Linked DNA regions of Homo sapiens: regions 2, 3 and 4 are each linked to region 1. The links are contacts of gene promoters, found by promoter capture Hi-C in blood cells and fetal thymus (Javierre and others, 2016). All regions are on one chromosome and are shown on one strand. The core of a region is centred on a gene start or on the middle of the fragment in contact, and the rest is flanking DNA. Distances in the headings are between cores, read along the strand shown.

Region 1 (3,371 bases), core at 472-2,971:
TAGATGGAGATCTATGCTGTCAATCGGACCTCAGTGCTTCAGTTAAAAGGAAAAAAAAAAAACACCAAAAACTTAAAACCTGAATACAAAGACACGTTAAATTGTTAAGACTGTAGTTGCTTTGAAAGCAAAGTGTTTTGATTTATCCAAACTAACTTAGCAACACGGTATTTTGAGTATTTTCCAGAAGTTTTCTTAAAACACGCAATCCAGCACATAAACAAATTTTGTACGGTGCAATGTAAGCAAATACTCAGAAAAATTCAATTTCTAAGCAGGATAACATATGACCAATATTGCCCTCAGTGGTTCAAAAGTCGCAGTAGAAATAATCCCCTGAGATAACCTGGAATTTACCTACCCAAGTATTCTAAGGGGTTCTCCCCGGCCACACAAACTATGATTCAAAACATCGTTCCGAAAACCCAGGTCCTGCATGTGCACAAAGGCGCAGTGCTGGAATGAGGAAGCTTCACCAAGATGAAATCACAACTCTAATTCATTAAAGAATATGCAGACTGTTTTCTAGAAAGACCCTCTTGTTGCGCTCCCTTTACCCTACCCTTTATTTAACCATGTAAACAGTCTCAATTATTGACATAAAAAAATAGCTTTCGATTCCCAAGTCTGGTAACACGGTTGGCCACCATCACTATTCCTTTAGCATCCTAAAATAAACCCCTCGAGCCGAGGTCAAAAACACGCCGGCTGAACGTCTGGTGTTTACATAGCCCAATCCCGGGCCCTACCCTACCTTTCCGAGCCACTTAAGAGCCATGGAACAGGCATCACATAATACACTTAGTAAAGAGACAAGTCACATGAGTCAGTGTCTCAGGTCTATGAATGAAAGATCTAAGCGTTTGTCTCAGCTAAAAGGAAAAAACAACCTCGAAAGGAAGGGTGGGAGGGGAGCTGGCGGGGGTGAGGGGAGCGGTGTTCCTTCCATACCCCTGCCGGGCGATTTAAACCCAGTAAGAGGCAAACGCAGGGCCGCCAGGCTGGCGGGGCCGGAGTCCTCGGGCGTGACAGCCCCTCAAGAAAAGCTCGCGGTTTCGCGCCCGCGTCCCTTGAGCCGCAGTCCTCGCGGCAGCCCCTCCACCCGCGGGCTGGGTGGGCGTGCAGGGCGCGGGAGACAGAGCCACCGCGGCCGGGGCGGCGGCCCTGGGCGCACTTCCTCAACCTCCAGCCGCCCCGTCCCCAAAACTGGGAGTAGAAGCAAAGGAAGAGCGAGGCGGCAGCCAGAGAGAAAGGAGAGGGAGCGGCGAGCCCTCGCCTCTGCAGCTAGGAGAGGCCAGAGGCAGGCGAGGGAGAGGGTGCGGCGATCGCAGGCGAACTCCGCCGCGGGCCGACGCTGGGAGACGACCAGCCCGTAGCCTCCGCCCAACACGGCGGGCGCGCCCGGGAGTCTCCGGCACCCACCCGGTCCCCATTCCCACCGCACCCGCTACCGGCCAGTCCGCGCTCTACTCACGCTCGGGGCTCTTCCAGGCTCCGCGGCTCTAACCGCATCGGGTCCCAGCCCCGCGGGCGGCGGCGGCGGCGCCGAGGGAGAGGAGAGCGGGCGGCACGGCCCCCGCCTCCCGGCCCCTCTCCCCCGCCGCTCCGGAGCTGCCCGGCCGGGCCCGAGCCCTGCCTCGCCGGCGGCCCCAGCCCCAGTCCCAGCGGCCGCGGCAGCAGCAGCCCGACACCTCAGCGGCCGCAGCGGCGGCACCGGAACTGCCGCTTTCTACTTCTCGCTCCCTCTCCTCGCTAGCCCCCGCCACACGCCCCCGCCCCCGACTCCTTTCTCCGTCGCCCCTGTTTTTTTTTCCTTTTGTTTCCAGAATAAACTTTATTGGTCTCTTTTTCCGCTCACATCGTGTAAACAAACAACGAACTCTTCCCCACCCCCTCGGCCCCCCCCCTCCTCCGGCAGAAGAGGGTAAGAGCTGAGGAGGGGCAGAGCCTACAATCCCCCGGAAGCAGATGCGCAAAGAAGCGGAAGCGAAATTGAGGCGAGGAGGAGCAGGGAGTGGGCAAATAGGGTAACAATATGTGCTACTGCGCCTGCGTCTTGCTTTTCCGCCCGAAGTTTATGTACAGTTGGGGCTGCTCTTCTGACGTTTGTTTAATGATCCGTCTTCTGCAGTAGTGAGGGTGTTGTGTCATCCTAGGACAGCGTACGTGTAGTATATTTGTTTCTACGAGCAGCAGGCGAGCTGGGGTAGAGATATAGAAAGGAATATTGGGAGCAAGTGGGTTATTTCACTTTTACACCCATAGAGGAAACGAGATTAGTTCGGGGGTGAGAGGAGGTGCGGTGGCTAACCGCCGCTGTCAGTGGCTAACCAGCGTGGTTATGGATTCTATAATAGAAAGAATGCTTTTTACAAAGCGTTGCTGTGCGTTCTTCTGCCGACATGGTTTAAGTTGTATACCATCCCGAAGGCGGAATGCACTGTCACAGCCCTCTGCAGTCCTTTGACTCACTTCGTGGAGACCTTTTGCTATGCCCTCATTTTTTTTTTTAAATCGAATTCTGATTCGAAGCAGCTTGTAGGATTCAATTCTAACTATTCAGAAGACGTGGGGGATTTTTCGCGTAATGCCAACAGAGACTTCAGAAATGTCATATAGGCTATAGATTTGATTCAAGGTAGTGTCTTGGTGCTGCGTACCTTAGAAGTCTGTTTGCTTGAGAGTAAATCAATCTGTTGACTTTTGAGATTACTACTGATAAGGGTTCGGTACTGTGCGTTTTTCTCCCCCTACTGGTCTTTTGTTGTAATATTGGAAAAGCGTAGGAGCAGTGATTAGAAGTCTGAGATACAAGTACTCCAGCATCGGTTCCTCCTTGAATTTTTAAGTAATAGAGGGCTTGGGAAGTGACCCATCCTAGAGATGTTACAGTCCTACTTGTCCTCTAGAGCAAAACTCTGACCAATAACAGTCTTCTCGAACACCGCACGTCCGTCCATACCCCAATGGTAAATGAGATGGATCTGTTCCTCTTTGTGGTCGTAGTTTCACTTGACTGTATTTCTTTCTTTTCTGTGTTTTCTTTCTTTCGTCCTTTTTCTCCCTTTAGCTCGGATTTTCATCTCACATTCCAGGGGTTTGTGTTTCTAAATGTTTTTCTCGAACCAATGTTCTTCAACAGTTTTAGAACACTGTTACTCCAGAGTACAGATTTTTTTAAAAAAGGAACACTGAATTGCTAGTCAAAGTAAATTTTAAGGCAATATATCCCAAATTGTGTTTCAAGCACAGAGTTATATGAGATATTAATAGGTAGACCTTGGTGGGGAAAAATATACTAGGGATATTTTTCCTTATAAAATTTATTATTTATTTATTATTATTATTTTTTTGAGCCAGAGTCTCACTCT
Region 2 (3,371 bases), core at 872-3,371, 9.4 Mb after region 1:
TTCAGCAGCATAATGAAATGTGATACAGGCCTGAGGAATTCCTTCTTTTCCAATATTATCCTTGCCGGGGGATCAACCTCTTTCCCTGGTTTAGACAAGCGGTTAGTTAAGGATATAGCAAAGGTGGCTCCTGCCAACACCGCTGTGCAAGTTATAGCTCCTCCAGAAAGGAAAATATCAGTGTGGATGGGAGGTTCTATTCTTGCATCCTTGTCTGCCTTCCAGGACATGTGGATCACTGCTGCAGAATTTAAAGAAGTTGGACCCAACATAGTACACCAAAGATGCTTCTGAAATACAGATAAAATGGTTGGAAGAAAATGTTTTGAGTATATGTGACAGAAAACTTTGGATATTATATGTTTCTGGGAGAAGAGAAAATACTTCACCTATTGGGATGCCAATATTTCTGTTGTATTTCTATAATGGGTTTGGGGGATAATAATGGTGAAGCTCAAGAACAGATGTCTATTGAGTAGAACCAAGTTAAAATAATGTTTCCCATAGTGTTTCTTCTATAACTTGACGTTGGTGAGCTTATATTTCCCTTGGAAGAGAGCATTTGTGGTACAATATGCTATGTGCCAAATGAGTGATAAGATTTAAGCTTATTGAAGTTTAGGGAAAGAAGGTTGCTGTGGTGAGGAACGAGACTCCATAGCAGAGGTATGCCATCATGGAAGGGGTGGCATTGGGATGGAGCGCAGATATCCAGGCAAGCATACTAAAATGAACAAGTTGCTAAAGATGAGAATGAACAAAGCATATTCAGGGCATGTTTAATAGACTGATTTTGTTTTTAAAATTTTTGTTTATGTATGTATTTATTCATTTATTTAGTTTTAGAGGCAGAGTCTTGCCCTGTGTCCCAGGCTGGAGTGCAGTAGTGCAATCATAGCTCACTGCAGCCTCCAACTCCTGGGCTCTGCCCTCAGCCTCCCAAGTAACTGAATCCACAGGTATGCACCACCACGCCTAAGTTTAGACTGATTTTGTTCAAGTCAAGAGCTCATATAGAGCAGAACAAGCGCTATGACTAGCAAGGTTAAGTGAAGGCCAGGGACTGAAAGGCTTAAAGTGCTAAATATCCAATATGCAAAGGAGAGAAATTAAAGATTTAAAAGCAGGAGCCATAAGGAAACTATGTTATGATGAATGTGATAGTTTGGAGAATAAATTGAATGAGGAAGGCCCTGGAGATTTGGTGATCAGTTAGAAAGTTACTAGTCCACATATAAAGTGCCAAGTCTTGTACTCAAGATTATAAGCAATAGGAATTTAAAAAAAGAAATTATGAAAACTGACAAGATTTAGTGCCTACTTAGATATGAAGGGGAAAGAAGGGTTTGAGATAATGTGGGATGCTAAGAGAATGGTGGTAGTGTTGACATATAACTCAAAGCATTTAGCATCTACTCTATGTAAGGTACTGTGCTAAGTGCAATAGTGCTAAAAACAGGAGTCAGATTCTGTCCGTAAAAAACTTTACAACCTGGCAGATGCTATGAAAGAAAAAGGGGATGGGAGAGAGAGAAGGAGGGAGAGAGATGGAGAGGGAGATATTTTACTTTTCTTTCAGATCGAGGACCGACAGCGACAACTCCACGGAGTTTATCTAACTGAATACGAGTAAAACTTTTAAGATCATCCTGTCATTTATATGTAAAACTGCACTATACTGGCCATTATAAAAATTCGCGGCCGGGTGCGGTGGCTCATACCTGTAATCCCAGCACTTTGGGAGGCCGAAGCGGGTGGATCACTTGAGCCCTGGCGTTCGAGACCAGCCTGGGCAACATGGTGAAACCCCCGTCTCTACTAAAAACACAAAAACTAGCTGGGCGTGGTGGCAGGCGCCTGTAATCCCAGCTACTCAGGAGGCTGAGACACGAGAATCGCTTGAACCCGGGAGGCAGAGGTTGCAGTGAGCCGAGATCACGCCACTAGACTCCATCCAGCCTGGGCGAAAGAGCAAGACTCCGTCTCAAAAAAAAAAATCGTTACAATTTATGGTGGATTACTCCCCTCTTTTTACCTCATCAAGACACAGCACTACTTTAAAGCAAAGTCAATGATTGAAACGCCTTTCTTTCCTAATAAAAGGGAGATTCAGTCCTTAAGATTAATAATGTAGTAGTTACACTTGATTAAAGCCATCCTCTGCTCAAGGAGAGGCTGGAGAAGGCATTCTAAGGAGAAGGGGGCAGGGTAGGAACTCGGACGCATCCCACTGAGCCGAGACAAGATTCTGCTGTAGTCAGTGCTGCCTGGGAATCTATTTTCACAAAGTTCTCCAAAAAATGTGATGATCAAAACTAGGAATTAGTGTTCTGTGTCTTAGGCCCTAAAATCTTCCTGTGAATTCCATTTTTAAGGTAGTCGAGGTGAACCGCGTCTGGTCTGCAGAGGATAGAAAAAAGGCCCTCTGATACCTCAAGTTAGTTTCACCTTTAAAGAAGGTCGGAAGTAAAGACGCAAAGCCTTTCCCGGACGTGCGGAAGGGCAACGTCCTTCCTCATGGCCGGAAATGGAACTTTAATTTCCCGTTCCCCCCAACCAGCCCGCCCGAGAGAGTGACTCTCACGAGAGCCGCGAGAGTCAGCTTGGCCAATCCGTGCGGTCGGCGGCCGCTCCCTTTATAAGCCGACTCGCCCGGCAGCGCACCGGGTTGCGGAGGGTGGGCCTGGGAGGGGTGGTGGCCATTTTTTGTCTAACCCTAACTGAGAAGGGCGTAGGCGCCGTGCTTTTGCTCCCCGCGCGCTGTTTTTCTCGCTGACTTTCAGCGGGCGGAAAAGCCTCGGCCTGCCGCCTTCCACCGTTCATTCTAGAGCAAACAAAAAATGTCAGCTGCTGGCCCGTTCGCCCCTCCCGGGGACCTGCGGCGGGTCGCCTGCCCAGCCCCCGAACCCCGCCTGGAGGCCGCGGTCGGCCCGGGGCTTCTCCGGAGGCACCCACTGCCACCGCGAAGAGTTGGGCTCTGTCAGCCGCGGGTCTCTCGGGGGCGAGGGCGAGGTTCAGGCCTTTCAGGCCGCAGGAAGAGGAACGGAGCGAGTCCCCGCGCGCGGCGCGATTCCCTGAGCTGTGGGACGTGCACCCAGGACTCGGCTCACACATGCAGTTCGCTTTCCTGTTGGTGGGGGGAACGCCGATCGTGCGCATCCGTCACCCCTCGCCGGCAATGGGGGCTTGTGAACCCCCAAACCTGACTGACTGGGCCAGTGTGCTGCAAATTGGCAGGAGACGTGAAGGCACCTCCAAAGTCGGCCAAAATGAATGGGCAGTGAGCCGGGGTTGCCTGGAGCCGTTCCTGCGTGGGTTCTCCCGTCTTCCGCTTTTTGTTGCCTTTTATGGTTGTATTACAACTTAGTTCC
Region 3 (3,371 bases), core at 473-2,972, 6.6 Mb after region 1:
CAGTCTAGGACTTAGAGTGTAAGTGTGTTCAAATAGTGTTAGGTTCACATAATGTCTAAAACTTTTAGTAGGAAAAATGCTACCTTGCCAATTTGTCTGTGTCTGAAAGGAATTTGCATTTAAAAATTTGGCAATTTGACAGAGGCAAATTTAAAATTTGAAAATATTTTCTTAAATATAGACTCATTTACAGATAGAAGGCAAGGGCAGGAAGTGATGGTGACCAGCGGTGCCTGAATGAACTCAGGAATGTAACTGTAGATCTAGGGTCCCAAACTTTAGGTTTCAAAGGATCTCTTGGAGTACTTGCTGAAAAATGTAGGTTCCTAAGTCCACTGCCAGAAACTCTGACTCAGTGGGTCAAGAATGGAATAACTAAACAATGGCCCCATGCAGTGGTTCATGCCTGTAATCCCAGCACGTTGGGAGGTTGAAGCAAGAGGATCACTTGAGGTCAGGAGTTCGAGACCAGCCTGGCCTACATGGTAAAACCCCATCTCTACTAAAAATACAAAAAAATTAGCTGGGCATGGTGGCATGCACCTGTAATCCCAGCTACTTGGGAGGCTGAGGCAGGAGAATTGCTTGAATCTGGGAGGTGGAGGTTGTAGTGGGCCGAGATTGTGCCATTGCACCACTGCACTCCAGCCTGGGCGATAAAGTGAGATTCTGTCAAAAAAATAAATAAATACATGAAAGAGAGAAAGAAAGAAAGAAAGAAAGAAAGAAAGAAAGAAAGAAAGAAAGAAAGAAAGAAGGAAAGAAGGAAAGAATAGAAAAGAAAAGAAAGAAAGAAAGAAAGGAAGAAAAGGAAAGAAAGAAATGCTGAATAAGATATAGAGACAACATACAGCTGGGCCAGCTTATGACATCTGATAGTGGGGAGATTTGGGGCTGGGTCCTGAATCTGAGGGTAATTAACTCCCTGTAACTTCTTTTCCTAATCTGTAAAAGGATAGTGACAGCGAGACATTGTGATGGGGTTAATATTTTGGAAAACATCCACATGTTTTTTTCCTTTGCCTTTCTGAGTGTGTCAACTACTTCCTACCTGTCCAGCCTAACACACAGGCATGTTGTCTTGGTAGGGATGGAGATCTGAGAAGGAGATTAGAATTTGTGTCTGAAGGTTTGCAAAGAGGAAGAAGTCGTCAATATTTAGATTCTGACATTCAAGATGGAATTATGTAGCAAGACCATTGCTATGAGACAGTATTTCTATTTTCCTTTATCCACTCCCACCCTGCCCTCTTCCCACCCTCACAGTAGCATGAGAAAAACCACATATGGAAGTTTCAGGTCATAAAAATTATCTTATAATTTAGAAAACAGGCCTTGTGCCTATGACAGCCAGGCCATGAGGCTTAGAGCTCTGTGGTAGAATGAGGATATGTTAGGGAAAAGCAAAGAAAATCCCTCCCCTCTTTGGCTGAGGACATTATCAAAAGGAGAGCAAGAAAGAGAAGAGAGAAATGGGCTTGAGGTGAGTGCAGATAAGGGGTGCATGGATCCTGAGGGCAAGGAGAGGAGCTTCTTTCAGTTTCCCTCCTTTCCAACGACTACTTTGAGACAAGAGCTGTCCCTGGGCAGTAGGAAAGGGGAGGGACAGTTGCAGGTTCAATAGATGTGGGTGGGGCCAAGGCCACAGAACCCAGAAAAACAACTCATTCGCTTTCATTTCCTCACTGACTATAAAAGAATAGAGAAGGAAGGGCTTCAGTGACCGGCTGCCTGGCTGACTTACAGCAGTCAGACTCTGACAGGATCATGGCTATGATGGAGGTCCAGGGGGGACCCAGCCTGGGACAGACCTGCGTGCTGATCGTGATCTTCACAGTGCTCCTGCAGTCTCTCTGTGTGGCTGTAACTTACGTGTACTTTACCAACGAGCTGAAGCAGGTCAGTGCAGTGCAGTGCACTCAGTCTTCGAGGCGCTTAGCAAATGTCTGGTTACCTGCTTCTTTGCATGTCAGCTTGCCCCTCTCTGAAGACTTTCCTGCTTCCTTTCTCTGTGGGTACACTCTAACTGCTAAATCACATAACAACTGAGGTCTTTGCAAAACTGTAAGTTCAAGAAATTGTGTAAACTAAGTGCAGTTACACAACTGGCTTCACTAGTTACTAGCAGATGTGGGCAACAAAACTCCTGAGGGATTTTTTGTTTTTAAAAGTATGTGTATTTTATAATATCAGCCATTGCAACTCTTCATGAAAGCTTTCTGCTAAATGCTTTGTAGTTCTTTTGTTTTCCTTTTCCAAACTTTTATTTGTGCACATTCAATTGAAAAAGATAATTTTTACAGGTTCTTTGGTGCCCATTTTCAGCATACAAAAATGTAAAAGACTATTCACAGATAAAACACATTAGCTCAAAATGGAAAAAAATAACAATGACAACAATAAAACAACCTAAGGTAGTGCACACTGTGACAGCTCTGCTTATGGGGACATGAGAATTCCTGCGAAAATAAATAGAATGTCCTTTTGTAAAAGCAGCAATGACATGTCTTGTAAACTTCCTTTTTTATATTATAACAAGGTTTGGAATAAAATCCAAAGGGACTGGAGCTTACACTGTAGCCATGAATAAATAAAAGAGTCTATTTCCTCAATTACCGTTGGTTCAGTTTTCCTTTTGAGTCCAATGTGCAGCAGGTTTTAAAAGGTGCACAGTAAGAGATTCTAACCAATTAAGTGGTGAATGATAAAATTTCTTTCCTGCTTTCAAACACAAATGGGTAAATCTGTTCCACAGCAGTAGCAACAGCCTTTAAATAGGGCCTTGTTACTGTGATACTTCCTGTCGAAAAAATCTGTAATGTAGCTCTTAGAGTCTTTATCCAATAGCACACAGCAGGATGAAGTTCAGATTCATAACTCACATGAGGTCTATTGCTCTTTGTGAATTCTGGCAAACAGATTTCTTTATTTTTAAATTTTTTTATTTTACTTTAAGTTCTGGGATACGTGTACAGAACGTGCAGGTTTGTTACATAGGTATACATGTGCCATGGTGGTTTGCTGCACCCATCAACCCATCATCTAGGTTGTAAGCCCCACAGGCATTAGGATTTGTTCTAATGCTCTCCCTCCCCTAGCCTCCCACCCCCGACAGGCCCCAGTGTGTGTGTTGCCCTCCCTGTGTCCATGTGCTCTCACTGTTCAACTCCCACTTATGAGTGAGAACATGCAGTGTTTGGTTTTCTGTTCCTGTGTTAGTTTGCTGAGAATGATGGCTTCCAGCTTCATCCATGTCTCTGCAAAGGACATGAATTCATTCTTTTTAATGGCTGCATAGTATTCCATGGTGTATATGTGCCACATTTTCTTTATCCAGTCTATCACTGATGAGCATTTGGGTTGGTTCCAAG
Region 4 (3,371 bases), core at 356-2,855, 6.4 Mb after region 1:
AGATCACAAGGTCAGGAGTTTGAGACCAGCCTGGCCAGCATGGTGAAACCCCATCTCTACTAAAAATACAAAAATCAGCCAGGTGTGGTGGTGGGCACCTGTAATCCCACCTACTGAGGAGGCTGAGGCAAGAGAATTGCTTGAACCCAGGAGGTGGAGGTTGCAGTGAGCTGAGATCGTGCCATTGCACTCTAGCCTGGGCGAAAAGAGCAAGACTCCGTCTCAAAAAAAACAAAAAACAAACACCAAAAACAAACAAAACAAAAAAAAAAGAGAGAGAGAACTTGCTTGAAATACCATGAAAGTGTGCCCTTCTTATCAGTTTTCCTTCAATGTTGAAGAAGAAGCCAACTGTTTCCTAAAAATCTCATTATCAGAACCAAATTTATGGTTATTTCACTTCTATTAATTTGATTAAATTAAAATTACCATCTTAAGATGCATAATTATATATACTAGGTGTTTTAAGACCTTCATCAATAAGTTTGGAGTTGTCATCCTACCACTTTCTTGAAACAGGTCTTCTAACTGTTTTCCTTCTGGATTTCTGGTTGAAATTTTGCTAGTGAAGTTTTCTCTCTCCCATTCAGTACTCACCCACCCCTCCTCACCCCCAATCATTAACAAGAAATCTGGGTTTAAGTGTATTTCTGCTACCATTGACTCACTGAAAGAATTTTTCAGGTGATATCCACACGTTTCTCCAATAAAAAGTTATTATTTTTTCCCTTTGTAGTAATTTGTGGAGAGATCTTCTGATGAAGGACCAAAATTCTGTGTCAAATTTTTACCCTCTAGTTTTAGCATTCATTTATGATTTTCTATGGATACTAGCTGGCATTCTATTTTAAGAAAAGCCTTTCTTCTTTCCTCATTTATTTATATTAATATAGATTGTTGAGTTTTATTTTAATCAATGGGTTATCCATTATGATGATTTATATTGATGGTAAAATTATCCCAGCTTCAGCCACTGGGAGACCCTTCAAGCTGGCAGCTGTGGACCTTTGACCAGTTCCTATCATTTTTTGAGCACTTCCGCATCTCTGGCACAACAGGTTCATCTTGTACTTTACAGCCCCAGCCCTGGTATCAGCCTTTTCTCCAGAGGTTGTGTCAAAAAGCCGTGGTTCCTCTTATTGGAGCATAGGATTTAGAAACCAAGACTTGGGTGCTAGATGTACTACTGGCCTTTCATTGCTTGAGCCAGAAGAATTTAATATCTTCTTTTGCCATATATCAGCTAGAACTTACAAACCACTCCAAGTCTGGCTCCAGAAAACAGAATTTTTATATCCTTTCTCAGTACTCTGAGTCAGAATGACCCACTTGCTTTGTCCAGAGACTCGTCACACTGAAACTATTTTCCGTTTGAGACCTTCCAGGAGGAAAGCCATCCTCACACGCATGCAGTACAAACCAGTGTCCTCCAGAGTCCGCTGTGCCTACGGCCAGAGCAGCGACAGAGCCTTCCTCAAACCTGTAGTGACTGCCACACTTTGCAAGGACACCGTAGAGGGGGCATGTCCGCGCTCCAACTTCCTCCCGACGCAGCCTCTGATTGGCTCCTGGGCTTATAAGAAACGCGTGAATGAGCAGCTGCCGCGGGCAGAAAGTTGCCGGAGGTCTCCGGGTGGTATCGCCCTTTCCTCTTTGCCAGCCCGCTGGCGAGCCGAGCCAGGGCAAGATGAGGTCGTCCTGTGTCCTGCTCACCGCCCTGGTGGCGCTGGCCGCCTATTACGTCTACATCCCGCTGCCTGGCTCCGTGTCCGACCCCTGGAAGCTGATGCTGCTGGACGCCACTTTCCGGGGTGCACAGCAAGTGGTGAGGTGCAGCCCAGCGCTGCTTCTCTCTTCCTCCTCTTACGCAATATTTGAAGGGGATACAAAATTCCTCCGCCGGGTTCCACGAAAACGCAGGTTTTTCCTAATGCATTGAGGCTGTCGCTTTTTGAGGTGGTCCAGTCGGGAATTTTCAGGGTATCGCATTCGCCTCCTTGCTAGCAGCGGGCTAGATCTGCATTTCCCCGTCTGCGTTTGTGACGGGGAAGAAGTGCTTGAATAGAATTTGACAACTGTTTAAACCTTCGTCTGTCCTAAATATCTTCCTCTTCCTTGGTTTGCAACGTCAAAAGGCAAATCCTTAAGCAGTTTATAAACCACCCTTCTTCACACTGTCGTTCTCCCATAGGGACCGGCAGAGGATAAATATTTTTAGGAGAGCTCGGGAAAAGCAGGCTCTGGTTCCTGGGAATGCAGCCACCTTAGAAGCAGAAGCAGGCAAGGGCAGTCTCGCAATGTCCCCAGGCTGTGGAGCGCTCCGTTCCCGGAGACAGCAGGCAGGGCTCTCCATCCAAGCACTTGAGGAACCATAGGGATCTCTCGTTTCACCCGAGGCAGATCTCAGCTCAGCCCAAGAAAGAGGACTGGGAGGCTGGGCTGGCTGAAAGGAGGTGAGGAGGCGGCAGCCCTGGTTTGCATGATGCATGTTTTCTGCTTGCCCTGCAGCATTTATTTTATGTCCTTGGCTGTCAGATAACCTTTTCCTGAGCGAGGTTACCTGCCTTAACCTGGGAGGGTAACATTTCTCTCCACTGTATCATGGGCGTGTGTTCATTCCTTCCATACACAGGAAAATATAACTGTCTCTGGTTTATTCCATGGTAAGAGGCATTATTTTTAGTGTCAGAGAATCTAAAATCTAAACTACAGTCTGCAGCCAAGGCTGAGCCCTCTGATTGGACAGTATTTCTGAGCAGCCTGCTCTATCTAAACTCTAACCTTCTCCAAAACCAAGCCTCCTCCCTCCCCACAACCTTGGGCTTTAATCTCAGAATATTTTTATAAACTCTTTCTTTCAGAAATGACAACTAGAGAAAGAGAAAAAAAATCATTTCAACCTGAGAAAGCTGATTTTAAAAAAGTCATGATTTTCCCAGAGGGTTTATGTTCCTGTTCCCTGTCCACTCATTATGTGTAGGATTACATAATCTGTGGGGCTTTATCCTATGAAAAGTCCCCTTACTAGGATATTGCAGCACATTCCTAGCGTGGATTTGCTTTTCCTGAATTCAGCCACATTCTCACCTCCAAAGCCCCTTTTGTCTCTTAGGAAAGGTCTATGAAGCTATAGACCCCTGCCCCCCTTCTTTTCCTCTTGCTTCCTATAATGTTGACATGGTGAAAATGATCATCCCCTTCTTTAGCACTGGTGTCAAGAAAGTCAGTCTTGTTGTAGGAAGCCTTGCATTCCCTCTCCTCCCCCATGAAATTATGTAATTTGAAAGTAATACCCTTCAAAGATTGAGGAACAGTGATGTTTACCTGGGTGGGTTAATGGTCTACTACAATAACTTAAACAGAGGAAAACA

What was found. The method cuts DNA at HindIII sites, captures the fragments that hold promoters and counts their contacts. A CHiCAGO score of 5 or more calls a contact.
Region 2: a contact is called between a fragment that was not itself captured here and the fragment with the promoter of PIK3CA in region 1, in 2 of 17 cell types (total CD4 T cells and M0 macrophages). The highest score is 5.5, in total CD4 T cells.
Region 3: a contact is called between the fragment with the promoter of TNFSF10 here and the fragment with the promoter of PIK3CA in region 1, in 1 of 17 cell types (non-activated CD4 T cells). The highest score is 5.7, in non-activated CD4 T cells.
Region 4: a contact is called between the fragment with the promoter of NCEH1 here and the fragment with the promoter of PIK3CA in region 1, in 1 of 17 cell types (M0 macrophages). The highest score is 5.3, in M0 macrophages.

What each region holds. Positions count from the first base shown.
Region 1 is chr3:179,146,707-179,150,077 of GRCh38, reverse strand. It overlaps PIK3CA (phosphatidylinositol-4,5-bisphosphate 3-kinase catalytic subunit alpha), which reads right to left and starts at 1,721. Exons shown (of 21, transcript NM_006218.4): 1 at 1,475-1,721. It overlaps PIK3CA-DT (PIK3CA divergent transcript), which reads left to right and starts at 2,105. Exons shown (of 3, transcript NR_125401.1): 1 at 2,105-2,162. RefSeq lists enhancers at 247-296, 858-1,357, 2,167-2,286, 2,897-3,006 and silencers at 1,097-1,146, 1,207-1,676. The HindIII fragment of the contact is 3,906 bases long and covers 473-3,371 here.
Region 2 is chr3:169,764,355-169,767,725 of GRCh38, reverse strand. ACTRT3 (actin related protein T3) reads left to right here. Exons shown (of 2, transcript NM_032487.5): 2 at 1-805. The coding sequence ends at 294. It also overlaps TERC. Among named protein-coding and RNA genes, the nearest start is that of ACTRT3, 3.5 kb to the left of the region's middle. RefSeq lists promoters at 2,230-2,734, 1,868-2,734, a silencer at 2,726-2,985 and enhancers at 2,498-3,037, 3,196-3,285. The HindIII fragment of the contact is 3,023 bases long and covers 610-3,371 here.
Region 3 is chr3:172,521,781-172,525,151 of GRCh38, reverse strand. It overlaps TNFSF10 (TNF superfamily member 10), which reads left to right and starts at 1,722. Exons shown (of 5, transcript NM_003810.4): 1 at 1,722-1,899. The coding sequence starts at 1,768. It also overlaps the pseudogene TBPL1P1. RefSeq lists an enhancer at 1,741-1,790. The HindIII fragment of the contact is 8,260 bases long and covers 1-2,217 here.
Region 4 is chr3:172,709,301-172,712,671 of GRCh38, reverse strand. It overlaps NCEH1 (neutral cholesterol ester hydrolase 1), which reads left to right and starts at 1,605. Exons shown (of 5, transcript NM_020792.6): 1 at 1,605-1,825. The coding sequence starts at 1,688. RefSeq lists enhancers at 1,155-1,294, 1,339-1,633, 1,555-1,824, 954-2,153. The HindIII fragment of the contact is 17,687 bases long and covers 1-3,371 here.